2 separate regions of the Homo sapiens genome follow, and region 1 is linked to region 2. Evidence: promoter capture Hi-C in human tissues and cell types (Jung and others, 2019). All regions are on one chromosome and are shown on one strand. Each heading gives the region's core, a stretch centred on a gene start or on the middle of the fragment in contact. The rest is flanking DNA. Distances are from core to core; before and after follow the strand shown. Region 1 overlaps RAB8B (RAB8B, member RAS oncogene family). Region 2 holds the start of CA12 (carbonic anhydrase 12).

Region 1 (4,163 bases), core at 390-2,889, 130 kb after region 2:
TTCGACTCCCCGAGATAGTTATAATCCTTTTTGTAAGTGCTTAATGATTAAAGCACTTTGCTTTCTTGCCTGAATGTCTGATTTCTGTATAAAGCAAGCAATCGAGCTGGACTTATTACTGTGTACATTCTGCTCAGTAGAGCACAATAAAATAGATCTCCTCAAGAACTTGTTCAGCTATGGAGCCCATGATTTCATGGGGACCTGGAGTTCAACACATAAATCTTGACAACGTTTTCAAAGACTTTTAAACATAAACAACATGTCAAAACTATATAAACTTTCATATATTTTTGCTTTTTAGCTGATGGCATACCATTAAAATGCATTCTGAAAAATATAAGAGTTTCTGATTTCATTTATAGAAGCAATCCTATAAAGGAAGTTAAATTTCCTTGATACTTGAGAAAATCAATATTCTCAAATTTCCCACTTCCAGCCAGAACTAATTCATTCCCTGTGCTACTAAGACAATTTAATTGCAGGAGAGAAAGAGGCATTTGTGGAAATATACTAGAAATCTAGTATATACCAAATCCTAATAAAAGATGAAGGCCCAAGGGAATATCATAAGTTAAAAAGCAATAAACACCTTAACATAGACATATATCTTACAAAATACTTTCACACTGCACTCACGTGATGTCTACCACAGCCCATTAGGGTGGGCTACTGGCTGGGGGTGTTACCAGCATCCAAGTTCTGCAGATGAGGAAACAGGCTCAGAGGAACTATGGCCCCAGCTGTGCCACTAAACAGCTCATATTCTTTATGTATTTATTTATTTGTTTGTTTGTTTTTGAGATGGAGTCTCGCTCTGTCACCCAGGCTGGGGTCCAGTGGCACAATCCTGGCTCACTGCAACCTCTGCCTCCTGGGTTCAAGCGATTCTCCTGCCTCAGCCTCCCAAGTAGCTGGGACTACAGAAGCCCACCACCACGCCAGGCTAATTTTTGTATTTTTAATAGAGATGGGGTTTCACCATATTAACCAGGCTGGTCTCAAACTCCTGACCTTGTGATCTACCCGCCTCGGCCTCCCAACGTGCTGGCATTACAGGCGTGAGCCACTGCACCCGGCCCAGCTCATACTCTTGAAGGAGACAAGCATCTTAGGTCTCAGCTGTTCAGCTCTGGGCCAGGCCTTACAAAAAAGCCATCTTATCCTGTCATTTTCTTTGATCGGCATTAGATGCATGGGGCACTTGTTTGCTGCACCGCTAACAAATCATGGGGAAATGGAAGGCAAGCACTTTTTAGCAGACTAACCATATTTCTCTGAGAAACCCAAGGAGGGGATCATGAGAAAAGATGTAATTTTTTAAATCTGTAAAATATTTGGCATCTTGTTCAATACCAATGGATGGAAAGGGCAGCCTATAGTAACCTTCATAACATTTTCCAGTGAAGTACACTGGAAACCACTAGGAAGCCAATCACTATGTTCCAGGGCAGTTGAGTAGTTATCCCAGCTTCATCACATATGCCCTCGAGTGGACCTAACCACTCTCAGTCCCTGTTTCCTTCTCTATAAAAGAAGAGCTGGGGGATATTCTTCTTCTGTCCCAGTTCTGAGTTCAAAAAAGAAATACAGCCTAAGGCAACAGCTAATATGTATAACTTTACTCTTTAGCCCTGCCTCGTTCTTAGCCAGTGCTGCTCTGAATTCTACGTTTTGTCTACTGCTGTCATCAATACACATTAGATCAGCAAACATCACCAACAACCTTCCAAAAGCTCCAAATCTATATGGCTCCATGCAAGGCACTGAACTGAAAGAAATTAAACCAGCTTCTAGGAGGTTAAAAAAAATCTAAGAAGAGCTTCTGAGTTCAAGTCAAAAATATTCAACCTAGCAATCTGGAGGAACCATATTTATTCACTGTAGTTGGACAGATTCTTCAGGAGTTTATGAACCAGAGTTGGGTAATCATAAGATCTTTGCCTTGCATATTGCAACATCAGAGTTGGGAAACATCCTAAGGACTAATAGTTTGTGTTCCTCCAACATTTATATGTTGAAGCCTAATCCTCAATGTGATGGTATTTAGATAGGGGAACTTTGGGAGGTAATTAGGTCATGAGGGTGGAGCCGTTGTGAAAGGGATTAGTGCTCTTCACACCATAGAGATGATCTCTCTCTGGGCCATGTGAGGATACAAGTGAGACAGCTGTCTACAAACCAGGAAGCAAACCTTCACTAGACACTGTATCTGCTGGCACCCTGATCTTGGGTTTCCCAGCCTCCAGAACTGTGAGAAATAAATGTTTATTGTTTAAGACACCCAGTCTATGGTATTTTTGTTATAGTAGCTGTGATAGTGTGATACAGTAAGGAACACATATAATAAGAAACATATTTGGTCTCTGCTCCTGATTCTTGGCACACAGATACTAAAATTCTTGGAATCTCCAACAAAGTGTTTAAGTTCTTTTTGTGCGCTAATGAAATAACTGGTGGCTGGGGCTCCTGTTCAGCCACAGGATAGGAGGCTGGTTGCCAGGAGAACCAACCAAGTGATAAGCGGGCTGGAACTTTCAGTCCTACCATTCGACCTCTGGAGAAGGGAGAGGGGCTAAAGGTTGACTTAATCACCAATGGCCCACGATGCAATCAATCATGGCTATATAAGGAAGCTTCCATAAAAACTCAAAGGACTGGGTTTGGAGAGCTTCAGGAGAGTGAGACACGTGGAGGTGCTGGATGTTCTTGGAGAGTAGATGACCCCTCCCACAAGGAAGGAAGTGTGGAAGTTCCTCACTCCTTCCCACATGGCTTGCCCTGTGTATCTCTTCCATCTGGCTGTTCATCTGTATTCTTTGCAATATCCTTTATAATAAATGGGTAAACATAAATAAAGTGTTTCCCTGAGTTCTGTGAGCTGCTCTAGTAAATTAAAGGAATCAGAGGAGGGGGGTCATCAGAACCCCAATTTATAGCCAGTTGGTCAGAAGTAGAGGTGACAACCTACTACAGTTGAGTATCCCTAATCTGAAAATCCAAAATCTAAAATGCTCCCAAATCCAAAACTTTTTGAGTGCCAACATGATGCCATAGTAGAATATTACACAACTGAGCTCACGTGACGGGTCACAGTCAAAATGTAGACATACAACACAGTTTATTTAAAAAATTTTATTGGCCGGGTGCAGTGGCTCACGCCTGTAATCCCAGCACTTTGGGAGGCTGAGGCGGGCGGATTACCTGAGGTCAGGAGTTCAAGACCAGCTGGCTAACATGGAGAAACCCCGTTTCTACTGAAAATACAAAAAAATAGCAGGGCGTGGTAGCGCATGCCTGTAATCCCAGCTACTCAGGAAGCTGAGGCAGGAGAATCGCTTGAACCCGGGAGGTGGAGGTTGCAGTGAGCCGAGCTCACACCATTGCACCACAGCTTGGGCAACAAGAGCGAAACTCTGTCTCAAAAAAAAAATTTATTAAAATATTGTATAAAGTTATATTCAGCTTCATGTGTACCAGCTGTATATGAAACATAAATGAATTTCGTGTTTAGACTTGGGTCCCATCCCCAAGATATCTCATTATGTATATGCACATATTCCAAAATCCAAGAATATCCAAAATCGGAAACACTTCTGTTCCCAAGCATTTTGGATAAGGGATATTTAACCTGTACTTGTGACTGGCAGCTGAAGTGGGGACACTGCGGGACCCAGCCCTCAACCTGTGGGATCTGATGCTATCTCCAGGTAGACAGTATCAGAACTGACTTAAATTATAGGACACCCAGAAAGAAAAAGAAAATTAAAAAAAGAATTAAAAAAAAGGTATAGGACACCCAATTGGCATCTGCTGGAGAATTACCTGGTGGTGGTGGGGGGAACCCCCTGACATCTGGTGTCAGAAGTACTGTGCTATGTATGAGAAAAAAAGTGTGGTAAAAATATCTTAGAGCAGTCTGAACTATGACATGATTTTTTTTCTCAGTCTTCATTTTTCTATTTAATAAGAAATATGCAAATAAATCATAAAATATCATAGCTGGAGGGGAACTCCAATGCCATCAATCCAACCAATTTACAAACGAGGAAAAGGTGAGACCCTGAGAAGGGAAATAACTGGCCCAAAGCCCTCAATTTGGAGGCATCCTGGCTAGAACCTAGATCTGTACTTCCTGCCAAGGGTTCCTGCGACGTGACTAC
Region 2 (3,643 bases), core at 447-2,946:
GACAAAGATCAGACCTAAATGACTCAGTCTTTCTTCTAACTTTCATGCTGTCCTTATTCATTCCTGGGCATAGGCCAAACTAACCTTAGAAAGGAATTCAGTTTATGGTTTGACTCAGAAACAAAATCAATAATAGCCCTTTCCCGAAAAGACCCCCTTCTTGCCTGGGTGCCAGTCTGCCTTTGTACGATTAATCTATTAGTTACAACATTAGAAATTATGGTTTAGGGGTCCTGCGGCGTCAGGCTGCAAGAGTCTGAACCTTCCCAAGTTGCTGCTGGGGATAACATCGCTATTGTAAAATCTAACATCCTATTTTGCAGACCCTGCACTGGATGGATCAGCTGACACCACTCAGACCGTGTGTGATCTGGCTCAACCAGTTCTGCGATCCCACCCAGGAACAGAAGACTGCAAGAAAACGTTACTTCAACCCCCCTGTGATCCCATCTGCAACCTGACCAATCAGCACTCCCCAAGTCCCAAGCCCCTATCTGCCAAATTATCTTTAAAAACTCCCAGAGGCAGGGTGCAGTGGTTCAACGCCTGTAATCCCAGCACTTTAGGTGGATCACGAGATCAAGAGATCAAGACCAGCCTGGCCAACATGGTGAAACCCCGTCTCTACTAAAAATACAAAAATTAGCTGGGTGTGGCGGCGCGTGCCTGTAATCCCAGCTACCCAGGAGGCTGAGGCAGGAGAATCGCTTGAACCCGTGAGGCAGAGGTTGCAGTGAGCCAAGACCATGCCACTGCATTTCAGCCTGGGCGACAGAGGGAGACTCCGTCTGAACAAACAAACAAACAAACAACTCCCGGAATGCTTGGGGAGACTGATTTGAGTACTGGAATCCCAGTACTTTAGGAGGCCAAGGTAGGTGGATCATTTGAGGTCAGGAGTTCCAGACCAGCCTGGCCAACATGGTGAAACCCCGTCTCTACTAAAATTAGAAAAATTAGCCGGGTGTGGTGGTGGGCGCCTGTAATCCCAGCACTTTGGGAAGCCAAGGCAGGTGAATTATCTGAGGTCGGGAGTTTAAGGCCAGCCTTAAACTGGCGAAACCCCGCCTCTACTAAAAATACAAAAATTATCTGGGCATGGTGGCATGTGCCTGTAATCCCAGCTACTCGGGAGGCTGAGGCAGGAGAATCGCTTGAACCCGGGAGGCGGAGGTTGCAGTGAGCCGAGATCACGCTATTGCACTCCGGCCTGGGCAACAGAGCGAGACTCCGTCTCAAACAAACAAACAAAGGAACGAAAACCTCCGGTCTCCGGCACGGCAAGCTCTGCGTGAATTACTTTCTCCATTGCAACTCCCCTGTCTTGATAAATGGGCTCTGTCTAAGCAGCGGGCAAGGTGAACTCGTTGGGCTGTTACAGGACCAGTGACAGACCAAGGGCATGCCACTGAAGGAATCCCTAGACGCACCCTTCTGGATGTGAGACAGGCGGATCTCACCCACGCCTGCCAGCAGCTCCTCGGAGAACTGTGTTCCTGGGTCAGCCCTGGCCCAGAGGAGCGCCGGGGACCCGCAGAGTGCTGCTGAAGTCAAGGCTACAACTCACCTAGGATCTGGGGCGCCAGCCCTCCGGTGGGCAGGGCGTTCTCCTCCCCCACCCCCTCCCCGCACGATGACATCAAGTGTTTGGCGTTGAGTTGCTCCATAAAAGCTGCCCGGGGAAGCCAGGAGAGCGAAGGGCGGACGTACTCGCCACGGCACCCAGGCTGCGCGCACGCGGTCCCGGTGTGCAGCTGGAGAGCGAGCGGCCACCGGGAGCCCCCGGCACAGCCCGCGCCCGCCCCGCAGGAGCCCGCGAAGATGCCCCGGCGCAGCCTGCACGCGGCGGCCGTGCTCCTGCTGGTGATCTTAAAGGAACAGCCTTCCAGCCCGGCCCCAGTGAACGGTAAAGTTTCCGCCTGCTTCTTTCCTAACACTCCTGAGCGCTCAGCCGCCCCTGGGCTGAAGGCTCTTCAATGATAAAGTAAAATCATTGCTGCGGGGAGCAGGGAAGGTGTAGTACCAAATAGTAGATTCTCAAGAAAGGATGCTCCGTTTTCCTTTGCTGAGGTTGGGTCGGGAAGCACGTTGCTTTCTAGTGGCGCTTGGCGCAGATTTGGTGTTAAAATGTTTGCGTGTACTCCCGGGCACCGCCAGCTCTGAAGATGTGGCTTGGGAACTTGCTAACCAGGGAGGAGATGCAAAGCCAAGATTTAAAACAGCGTTCCCCTGATCCACGTTTAGAAAGTAGAGACATGACTGTGGCATTCTGATTGGGGTAAGCACAGAGAAAGGTTTGCTGTGCCCCTGTGCAGAACCCGCAGACAGTGGTAGGCGCTTTTCTTTGGAGGAGAGGATCTTTACCATTAAGTCTTACCTACAAGTCAAAGGGATGATGCATCCCATTCTTAATCATTGTTTTTCTCCAGGAGGGCTCTACTATGCTGAATGTACGTGTGTGTGCACGTACACACACACACGCACGCGCGCACGCACACAAACCACACACACACACACACACACACACACAGCATATTTCTGATTGTAATTAGAACACTAAATCCCAAAAGGCTGGAGGCTGAGGGACTGAATGGAGGCTCCGTGGAGTGACAGGAGGAGGTGGCAGAGGGGACCTGAACTGTGGGCTCACGCCGGGCCAGTGAGCTAACACGTGTACAGCCAAGGCTGGTTCATTAATCTTTTGGAATAAGAAAGTGATTTTGGACCGAAAGTGATTTTACTGGCTGAAACTAGATTCTTCCTGGCGAGGCAGTGGTGGTGGGAAATGTGTCCTGCTCAGCAGCATAAAAGCTCTGAGCCTCCTCTCTTGGAGGTCACAGTGCCCATGGGGAAGGGCAGGGGAGCCAGGCTGTGGATAACTCTTAATTAAATTCCAGTCAACTAGCTGGCATGATGTGCTTGATATTATCTCCCTCATCTGGTCAGGGAGAAACAGAAGCGATGTAACAGAAGTTGGGAGAAAGGAGCGATGTAAAAGTGAAAATCAAGTTTTAAAACCACAAACTTTACATGTTTCCTTTTACGAAAGCTGCACTGAGACCAAAGTTTCCCTGGAAATCTCTTTAGTCCTAAGTTGCTCCAAGACCAAAGGGAGAAACAGCCATTAGTTGGCCCTCTTTCCTATAGCTGGTTGCTCCTCTCACTCTGGGGCAGCTCTGCCTCCCTTCTCTCTCTTTTCCTGCCCTTCCCTGTTCTCTTCCCTCCCTCCCCTTCCTTTCTTCCCTACTTTCCCTGCTCTTCCTCTTCCCTCTCCCTTTCCCTCCTCCTTATCTCCTCTCCCAATTCTCCAAGTTGGGACTGGGGAAGTTTGTAGTCAAAACTCCACTTTCGCCTCACTCTGAGGAAGGAGACTGCCTACCCCTGGGTAGAGCACAGCTTTTATTCTGTAAATTCTCATGCAGTTTCCTTGGGTTTTTAACTGCCTTAGAGGACAGGTCAAAGCAAAAATCACTGAGGTGTAGAATGTCAGCATGAACCCAAAGTTGGAGGTGGAGAGGAGTTAAGCTGAGTAATGGGGTCAAAGTGTGATCTGCTCTCTGCCTGGTGCATTTAAACTTCCAGCATTGGAGAATGTTCAAGAACAATGTCAGGGGCCCAGGAGGGAGCATAATAATGTGAAGTC

Evidence for each region. The method cuts DNA at HindIII sites, captures the fragments that hold promoters and counts their contacts. A contact is called where the count stands out against the background at its distance.
Region 1: a fragment that was not itself captured here is called in contact with the fragment with the promoter of CA12 in region 2 in 1 of the 25 tissues and cell types used here (spleen).

Annotation. Positions count from the first base shown.
Region 1 is chr15:63,245,150-63,249,312 of GRCh38, reverse strand. All of the region lies in intron 2 of RAB8B (RAB8B, member RAS oncogene family), which reads right to left. Among named protein-coding and RNA genes, the nearest start is that of APH1B, 30 kb to the left of the region's middle. The HindIII fragment of the contact is 7,123 bases long and covers 1-4,163 here.
Region 2 is chr15:63,379,899-63,383,541 of GRCh38, reverse strand. It overlaps CA12 (carbonic anhydrase 12), which reads left to right and starts at 1,696. Exons shown (of 11, transcript NM_001218.5): 1 at 1,696-1,906. The coding sequence starts at 1,822. RefSeq lists enhancers at 972-1,491, 1,492-2,012. The HindIII fragment of the contact is 12,151 bases long and covers 1-3,643 here.